2 separate regions of the Homo sapiens genome follow, and region 1 is linked to region 2. Evidence: promoter capture Hi-C in 16 types of primary human blood cells and fetal thymus (Javierre and others, 2016). All regions are on one chromosome and are shown on one strand. Each heading gives the region's core, a stretch centred on a gene start or on the middle of the fragment in contact. The rest is flanking DNA. Distances are from core to core; before and after follow the strand shown. Region 1 holds the start of MRPS9 (mitochondrial ribosomal protein S9). Region 2 holds the start of RDH14 (retinol dehydrogenase 14).

The links. Contacts are between HindIII fragments. The CHiCAGO score rates a contact against its expected background, and 5 or more counts as called.
Region 1: a contact is called between the fragment with the promoter of MRPS9 here and the fragment with the promoter of RDH14 in region 2, in 1 of 17 cell types (total CD4 T cells). The highest score is 5.4, in total CD4 T cells.

The regions. Positions count from the first base shown.
Region 1 is chr2:105,035,301-105,039,920 of GRCh38, reverse strand. MRPS9 (mitochondrial ribosomal protein S9) reads right to left here and starts at 1,852. Exons shown (of 11, transcript NM_182640.3): 1 at 1,694-1,852. The coding sequence starts at 1,828. It overlaps MRPS9-AS2 (MRPS9 antisense RNA 2), which reads left to right and starts at 1,425. Exons shown (of 3, transcript NR_110603.1): 1 at 1,425-1,467. RefSeq lists enhancers at 870-1,812, 1,566-1,895, 2,066-2,115, 2,166-2,215, 2,236-2,445. The HindIII fragment of the contact is 6,591 bases long and covers 1-4,620 here.
Region 2 is chr2:18,557,616-18,562,663 of GRCh38, reverse strand. RDH14 (retinol dehydrogenase 14) reads left to right here and starts at 2,011. Exons shown (of 2, transcript NM_020905.4): 1 at 2,011-2,484. The coding sequence starts at 2,092. All of the region lies in intron 10 of NT5C1B-RDH14 (NT5C1B-RDH14 readthrough), which reads left to right. LOC105373456 (a long non-coding RNA gene) reads right to left here and starts at 2,488. Exons shown (of 6, transcript XR_007086234.1): 1 at 1,973-2,488. RefSeq lists enhancers at 1,602-1,821, 1,832-1,881, 1,942-1,991, 2,802-2,851 and a silencer at 2,082-2,591. The HindIII fragment of the contact is 4,929 bases long and covers 1,232-5,048 here.

The DNA of each region.
Region 1 (4,620 bases), core at 603-3,102, about 86 Mb before region 2:
CTCAGTAAACATTTGCCATATGGGGGAAAGAGGTTGTTTCAAGAATGGTCAAGGAGATGAAAATTAAAGTAACAGGAGAAATCATTCTTCATCCATTTTACTAAACCAGTACTTAAGAACTAGACCAGATGTTTACTGAAACTTTATTAGTGCAAAGAAAGTAGAAACAAAGCAAATGTCCATCAATTGTTACATTAACTTTGATATATTCTTATCATGGAATAGTATGCAGCAGTTAAAAATGCTTTTAAAAACATAATAGGGGACCCTGAAGGATTTCTACTTTACAATATACTGCATATGTACAAGAGAAAAGCAGAAAGTAAAATGCAATCAAATATGGTACCATTTTTTGTAAAGTACACCTGTGCATGTATGTTTATGCATGATTATAAGAACATGGAAAAAACATAGAAGAATAGATACCAGGAGGGACAGAAAGTTAGCCATCCCCCAATACATACATTAAATGTCAACAATAAAAATACTCTGTATGATATAGTCCCTCTCATAATCATGCGTATGTAGCAAAGATATACTCAAAGAGATGCATGAAAAAATAAAAATTTCTAGCACATTTTCCAGTAAGAAAAAAAAAAAAAACAAATGTCCACATGAATAGATAGAATGGACTGGTTGATCTAGATTAAAATATAAAGGAAAGAACATACAAAAAGATGTTTTTTTTTTTAAATATAGTTTTTAAAGTATGGTATTTGACTTTCCTGCAATAATTGGTACTTGTTATCACTCTCCCTCCTTGAAACATTCACCTGTTTTCCATGACACCACACTGGCTGGTTTCTCTCCTGCTTCTTTGGTCCCTCATTCTCAATCTCTTGAGGCCTCTTATTTCTTATTTGTCCTTCAGGGCCCTGTCCCTCTGCCTACTCCTCAGTACACTCTCCCTAGGTAATTTAATTTGTTTACAAGGCCTCAGTTACCATTTACAAGGTAACAGGGCATTTCGAAATCAGTTCTCCTCCTGAGCTATACACTTGACTATCCGTAGACCTACTGGAAATCCCAGATGCCTAAAAACATAATCCCATACTAAACTCGTTTCTTCCCTCTCAAATCTTTTTCCTGCTCTGAGATCGCATGTCAGTAAACTGGCATCATCAGCCATCCAGCTGTTGACTCCCCACTTCTCCCTGGATTAAACGAAACGTACAAGTTCTGGCCTGCATCTTTCCATAGAGGGGGATTCGGGAAAATTAAGAAGCCAGAAATTGCGCATATTGAAGGCACTTTCAAAAAGTCACTGTCCTCTACACAACGTGACTTTCTCCATTGTCTTCCAGGCACCTGCAGGAATCCAATTCCCATCATTCTTCTCTGGCGCGGCCCTCCTCCTCCCTAGACAGCAGGGCAGGGTAGGACTGGACCCAACACAGACCTAGGCACCGACCCTTACTTAGCTCAGCAGCCAAATGAAGGAGGAGGTCGCTCCACTTCTACCTTCAGGTAAGTTCCCCTCGCTGCACCCCGCAAAAAAACAAGTAACAACCTCTAGAGCGGCTACTGCACGCCAATACCCACCTCCTCCCCCCCAACCTCAGACCTCCACTAAATACCTAAGATCCTAGAGTCCCTGCCTGAAGGCACGCGAGACGCTGGGGGAAGGTGTCCGCGCTGGCTCCACATCCTCGCGCGGCAGAGGTAAGCCGCTTCCAGTCTTCCCAGGCCTTACCTGGGATCTGACATTTGTTTGCAACTCAGGGGCCGCGGTTTTCCAGAGGCCTTGCTTCCGGGCGAGGCTACCCCTACCCCAGAGAAGAAGCCGGTACGAAACTGCTCCGCCGTAGGACACACAGGGCGCCGCCATGTTAGCTGTGGGAGCTCCAGGACCGGAGGGGTGAGGGGGCGGGGCCTAGAGACGGCGCAGGCGCTAATGGCGCGGGGTTCCAGAGGCTGTCCTGTGCAAGAGCTTCTCGGGCCTTTGGATCAGGGGGCGTGTCCCGCGATCCGCGACAGCTCGTCGCTGATTGGGTGCATGGTGTCCGCGGGGCGTATCCGACTCCACCCCTGCTCGGTGTCGACCTCAAGAAGGATCGCTGGTGGGTCGTTTTTCTCGGCCTCTTTCTCTTCACGTCCTGAACTCAGTCTCTTCGGGACTCACTTCCACGCTCTCCTAGTCTCTTTGGCACTCACATCCACGTGGCGCTTTAGCCAGCCCTTCCTTCCCAGCCCCCTTGCTGCACCTCGAGCCGGCTCTTCCTCCACCTGGGCAGGGCGGCCGGGGCCCCAGATGCGCTCCAAGCCTTGATTCCTGTCTGCCTTATCCTAGTAGGGGTTTTCCCCTCCTCTAACTTTCCACGTTCGTCTGGTTCCAAGTCAAGACTCTCCTGCAGCAACTGTCAAGCCCCTCTCGGTTCCCTGGCACTCTCCTGCGTTGTTTCTTAACTGTATAATGCACAGGATAAACCTTAAACCGGTAAGGTCAAACACTACCTTTCTCGTTTTTGCACGCCCCTCCCTAAGCGTTGGTACTAAGCCTTACTTGAAACCCAATCAGAACTGATTAATTGTTGAATAGAGATGAGTATGTCTTGCTTTCTGAAACTTGCGTGCTCCTGGCAGTTAACTCCCAGGTTGCTTTCTACGAAACACATACTAAATGATGTAGTAACGCACTTTAAAAGGGTTTACACACACTTAGATTTGAAGGGTCAGTAAAAGTAAAACACACAGAAAATCTGAGATCATACAAAGTTGTCAAGCAAATAAATGCCGTCTACTATCACCATCATTTCACGAAACAGAACTTTTTAGCATTAAAAAGGTAGAATGGCAGAATTTCACAATAAAGAAAAATCTTTTAAATGGAATACATTTACTTGTATAAAATGCTCATCCTGTTGTTCTTTTTGTTATTAGCTTTTAGACTAGCAAAAGATATCTTGAGAAATTGGCAGAGGTCGGAGGACTAAACTCTGATTTTTTTATCTTGCCCAAGATTCCTATCTACAGGATTTGGGGAGTCATGCCCTACAAATCATAAATTCTTATTAGATGGGTTTTACTTAACCCTATATATGGTGACTTACTTTCCAACCTGACTCTGGCATAACATTACAAGACAAGGAAGAAAATCAAAATATTTTACCCCAAAACATGTTTCTTTGCCATATCTTGAAATGGCCCTGCAAAGCTGTCCTTGGAGGGGTGGGATATGCATCTGTAAAGAATCTGTATTAACATAGCTAGATCTTTTTCTTCCAGACCCTCCCAATCCTAAAGAGATTAACTAAGATCTGAATAGGAAACATTTGTCATCCATTGTCTCTAAGGGCAGCCACTGTAAGACTTACAGAGAACTTTGGTCTCCACAATCTTTATCTTAAACTGAACATTCCCTTTCTATCAGTCCCAGGTCTTTCTGGACCAAACCAATGTATTTCTTAAATGTGTTTGATTGATGTCTCATGCCTCCCTAAAATGTATAAAATCAAGTTGCGCCCTGACCACCTTGGGCACAAATTCTCAGGACCTGCTGAGGACTGTGTCATGGGCCATGATCACTCATATTTGTCTCAGAATAAATCTCTTCAAAATATTTTACAGAGTTCGACTCTTTTTGTCAACGGATGGATAAACTAGCATTTGGGAATCAAGACTTTATTTATTTATTTATTTTATTTATTTTGAGATGGAAGTTCGCTCTTGTCGTCCAGGCTGCAGTGCAGTGATGTGATCTCGGCTCACTGCACCTTCTGCCTCCCGGGTTCAAGCGATTCTCCTGCCTCAGCCTCCCGAGTAGCTGGGATTATAGGTGCCCACCACCATGCCCAGCTAATTTTTGTGTTTTTAGTAGAGACAGGGTTTCGCCGTGTTGGCCAGGCTGGTCTTGAACTCCTGACCTCAGGTGATCTGCCCGCCTTGGTCTCCCAAAGTGCTAGGATTACAGACGTGAGCCACCGCTTGCAGCAGAGAACCAAGACTTTATAGCTCATTAAAATAGATGTCTTTAAACAGCAGTTCCTACACATTGTGAGATTATTTAAAAATTTTTTAAAATCTTAATTGTGGAAATTTAACCAAGTAGAAAACAGTGAGTATGTGGAAGCAGGATTTATACTATTAAAAAATTATTGATATTGGACCATATAAGAACTAAGTACTAAAATTAAGGTTAGGAGTGGTGGAGATTTTTCCCTTTTTTGAAATTCATGTCACAGTCCTTTACTAGCATGCAGTCATGCACTGCATTATGCAGTTTCGGTCAACAGTGACCTTCACATAAGACAGTGGTCCCATAAAATTATAATAGAGCTAAAAAGTTCCTATCTCCTAATGACCTTATAGCCATCAAGACATCATAGTAAGGGAGGATACCACCCCTCATATTGTCTTATGCCCCATTTCTCCCTCCAAAGAAAGAAGTACAAACTAAAAGGCAGAAATGGAATCCACAGGGAGATAGCCCAGCACTGGGCCCTGGGCCTGGTAGTTAAAAATCAACCCCTGACCTAACTGCTTGTGTTATCTGTAGATTTCAAACATTGTATGGAAAAGCATTGTGAAAATCCCTGTCCTGTTATGTTCCATTCTGATTACCAGTGCATGCAGCCCCCACTCAGGTACCCCCTGCTTGCTCAATCGATCATGACCCTCTGA
Region 2 (5,048 bases), core at 762-3,261:
ATTTCATTAAGTTCCATGCATAAACTACACAGCAGTTACACTGCAGGTCTAAGGATTCCTCCCTCCTCTTTTCCTCCTACCCTCTCCTGCTCTCTCTACCTCCACCTTCATCTCTACTCCACCTGTACATATGTATTCCACCCCTGGCTCTAGATGAGAGAAGACCACAGCTGAAACACATCTTCTGATGCTCCCTAATTTTATGTAAACCAGTCCAAAATATATCAGTTGTGACATGTGACACTGAGTACCTACCATTTTGTAGGTGTCCTCCCATGCAAAGACCACAAGAGGTACGCAGACACAATCCTATCCTCTAGGAAACTTGAAACCTTAACAATCTGGTCAAGGAAGTCAAATGTGCAAACTCAAACAGCCAATACTAGAAGGCTGTTTGTCTTCAGTGCCAGTGAGGGTCACACATGACCCTGAGGGTCACACATGAAGGGAGCAGAGATCTTTATAGGCTGGAAGTGGTCAGGAAAGAAAGACTTGAGGTAGCCTGTGATTTTGATGGATGGGCAAGATGTGGATGGGTAGAAAGGACAATAAAGTGGAAACATATGCTGGGGGATCAATGAGTTTGAGTAGCAGCTTCAAATTGGGGATAGGGTGGTGTAGGACCACCTCTCATGATTCCTGTTCCTGGTGCCTTGTATAATCCCCAGTAAGAGTGCTCTTTCCCACCTCTGAGCTCCATTCTCATTACTCATAAGAAACCTCCTGGAATCCATCCCTTTTTCTTTGTATTCTGACTATTAGTTGCATGTTACATCCTTCCCAAATGTAAGGGAGTGGAAGATGGATTATCACAATTATTGGGGAGTTTGTCTCAAACGACACAAGCTGTGGTTCTTTTTCCTTGTCTGGAGAACCTGCAATGGGTGGAGGGTGGGAAGTGGGAGATCACAGTTCCAGAAAGTAAGCACCCTGAGAGCAGAAATGGTGTCCCATTTCTCTGTGGCTCTAACAGGGAACAGGCAGGGCCAGGCACATATTGGATGGAGAGGCAGACGAACGAATGAGTCTTTAAAAGTAGCTTGGTCTACAGCTATGAAGTTTGTAGCTTGAAGAAGGGTCCCTGTGACACTAACCCTGATATTAATGAGGCATTTTACAGTGAGCCAAGCACTTTGCCTTCCATCGTTGTGTGTAATAGTCCTATGGAGAGGGCAGGGAGGCATTTGTAAATGGCCTGCTCAGAAGCCTATATTTACAATAAGTCCAAGCTTTTCCCACTGTACCTCTGCCAGTGTGAAGATCATTTGAAGATGGCTTTCTTTTTTTTAATAGGGACCAATGACATAATGTCTTGTTCAGTGGTTCTCAAAGTGTGGTTCCCAGATCTGCAGCAGCAGCAGCACCTGGAAACTTGTTAAAAGTGCAAATTATCAGGCCCCATCCTGTACCTATTGAATTAGAAACTCTAATACTGGGGCCCTGGTTTTTTGTTTTCGTTTTGTTTCATTCCCCCACCCCGAACCCCCACCCCAAGTCCTCCAGGTGATTCTGATGTGCATTTAAGTTTGAGAACTACTCGACCATTCTATTTCCAACTGATTCATGTTGCTTAATTCTTTGTCTCATCTATGAAAAACAGTCCTACCTCAGACTTCAGCTTGTCAGGGCCCATTCCTCAGAAGGTGAATTGAACTGAATTTACAAGTCCCAAGAGCCCTCAAAGGAAAACACACGAAATGCCCTGAGGAGTGGCATTTGTAACAGGGCCTGTACAGAGATCTGTGATTCAAAGTACTCATCAGACATTCCCATGGGGAAGTCCGCCACTACTCTGGGATTTCAATACGTATGAACCCCAGCACCCTGAACACTGTGCTGGTTGCCCAGCCTCCATCATTAGGCTGGGAGGAGCTTCCACGGAGGGCGCAGGACCCAGGGCGCTGAACTCTCACAACCAATCAGGCGACCCCCCCAGAGGGAAACTACAAGTCCCAGCATGCCCCACGCGCACCGTCAGGGGCCGACCCGCCGCGCCCCAGCGTTCTCCGCGTACAGGTGGTCTCTTGGGTTCCGGTAAGGCGGCGGCTGCGGAACTCCCGTGGAGGGGCCGGTGGGCCCTCGGGCCTGACGATGGCAGTGGCCACTGCGGCGGCAGTACTGGCCGCTCTGGGCGGGGCGCTGTGGCTGGCGGCCCGCCGGTTCGTGGGGCCCAGGGTCCAGCGGCTGCGCAGAGGCGGGGACCCCGGCCTCATGCACGGGAAGACTGTGCTGATCACCGGGGCGAACAGCGGCCTGGGCCGCGCCACGGCCGCCGAGCTACTGCGCCTGGGAGCGCGGGTGATCATGGGCTGCCGGGACCGCGCGCGCGCCGAGGAGGCGGCGGGTCAGCTCCGCCGCGAGCTCCGCCAGGCCGCGGAGTGCGGCCCAGAGCCTGGCGTCAGCGGGGTGGGCGAGCTCATAGTCCGGGAGCTGGACCTCGCCTCGCTGCGCTCGGTGCGCGCCTTCTGCCAGGAAATGCTCCAGGTGTGGGCCTCGGGGGGCCGGGCTGGTGGGGAGGGCCTGGGCACGGTGTGGGAGGGGACTGCGGGCTGGGGCTGAGCCGCGAGGGACCGCCCTGGGGTTCAGGGTGTCACCTTGGGAACCGCTGAGGCTGAGAGGAGTCCAAAAAGCCACTTTGAGGCGGCCGGGAAGCTGCAGGGTTGAGAGGGAAAGAGAAACTAACTGGGAGGGCTGCCTTCTGTCCTCTAAGGATGTCGAAAAAGAAATGGGCCCAAGAGAAAAATAAATAAACCAGTTTCTGAACGTTTCATTTCGTTACGTGAGGACCGCCCCGAAGTAGATCCATGGCCTCTGAATTGTTTTTCCTGTGTCAGAAGTGAATTTGCACCAAGCTGTGTCTTCAGAACCCCTGAGCACTGGGGGAAGTTGCTAGCTAAGGACCTCATATCAGTCCTTTAAAAAAAGTTCTCCTTCCCCCGGCCTCTGCCCCTTTTCTGCTGGGGTAAGGAGCTCGCTGCCACCAGTAAACTCAGCACCATCCTTAACGGGACTGTGGCCTGATTTCCAAGTAGAATACATTTTGGAACCCAGTGGTCATGCTCCATACAGAGACAGGAATAAAAATAACACCCAGCATTATTGAAGATCTGTATGCCAGGAGCTGTGCCAAGCATTTCAGATTTTCCTTTTTGTCTTAAATGAAAATGAAGTGTCCTTGCCTATAACTGTCATTGAAGCTACACAGTAACCCTGTGGAGTAGGCATTATTATCATCCCTGTTTTACAACGCGAGGAAACTGAGGCATAGGAAGGCTAAGAAACTTGCTTGTGGTCTGTCTCCAGAACACTTGCTTTTAACCCTTGTTCTTTCCTCCTGCTGCCTGGCAGTGAGGTGTGAGGATTTCTTTGTGCAAATGGTAAGTAATTCCACATAAGTGGATGTTCTCCGTTGAGATTGAGGTAGAAGAGTTTCTTGCAGGGATAACTGGCATTCAGAGGGCATTTGTTCAGAAGAGTGAAATTTAAAATTAGCTGGGACAAGAAAGGTGCCTATATGACGTAGAGTCTCTTGAGTCTAGAGAAGAGGTTCCCAAATTTTCTCAGTAATTTTTTCATGATGCCCTTAGGCCAGAAATATTTCCCAGTTCATTTATTTAGAAAGTTTATTTTGCCAAGGTTAAGGATGCACCCGTGGCAGAACCTCAGGCGGTCCTGAGGACATGTGCCCAAGGTGGTCGGGGCACAGCTTGGTTTTATACATTTTAGGGAGACATGAGACATCAATCACATATGTAAGGTATACATTGGTTCTCCTGGAAAAGTGGGACAACTCGAAGTGGGGGCTTCCAGGTCATAGGTAGATGGGAGACAAAAGGTTGCATTCTTTTGGGTCTTTGATTAGCCTTTTACTGAATACAATTTACATGTGCAGGAGGGATAGAGGAATAATCACTTATGTCTTAGACTGGCTCAGTGAGTCTGCATTTTCACATAAACAATACGGCAGAGTCAGCAATCAGATAAGCATTTATCTCAGGTGAGCAGAAGGATGACTTTAGAGTTCTGTCTTTTGTTTGGCACTTGTGAAGATGAGCTATCAATTTATGAATACATTGCCAGGGTGAAATTCAACAGAAGTGTTTTAGGGTAAAGATCTTGAGGCCCATGTGGGCAAATTATGAGGGTGATATGTAGCTTCTTTTTCTTTGTAGCTATCTTATTTAGGAATAAAATGGGAGGCAGGTTTGTCTGAGGCAGTTCCCAGCTTGACTTTAACCTTTGACTTAGTGATTTTGGGTTCTGAGATTTATTTTCCTTTGACACAACCTAATAAGTAGTTATGTCCTAACAACTTAGTAGCTATTTGAGAAGATAACATAATTGAAAGAAAAAAATAATATGTTTATTTTGTTCTTAAACAGCCATAACTACTAATGGGAAATGTATCTCTGTTGGTCATTACACCAGTGTCTGAAACCTTGGAATCAGATTGGACACTTCCACCCTCATTTCCTGTTCTAGGTAGATTTTTAGCATTGTTCTTGTTTTTTATTACAGCAACTGCTAACAGCTGCTTAAAAGTCAGCTCCACAAAGAAATAATGTCATTGAAAGGAATATAGCACAATGTAATGTTCAAGCTGTGAACCACCTGGAGCTAGTAGTTTTGAGGTATTGAGCAAATATCACTGTGTTTCCCTCGAAAATTTAAAATATTCCACAACACCCTGAGAGTTTGCTGCAATGCTGTAGGCCACAGTTCGGGAGCTGTTGCAGAACTAGAGAGTTGGTTTTTTGTTTATTGCTAGTATTTAATTATGTGTAACACAGGTTAAGAAATAATACTCATCAGTGAGATTTTGGAAGCATTAAAGATGGATCTTTCTGTTCCTCTTTAAAATATAGATGGGGCTGGGTTTGCTTCTTTGGCACTTGAGGCAGAACTAATTAAAAAGTGAGGACACAAAGAGATAATTAAGTTGTCCTTGCTTCTAAGTAAGTATTTCTGTTCCTGCCTGGCTCTGAAGTTAAGTGACTATAATTAGAAGGAAAAAAAAATGGAAATGTAGATTTCCCACAGGTTGGTAT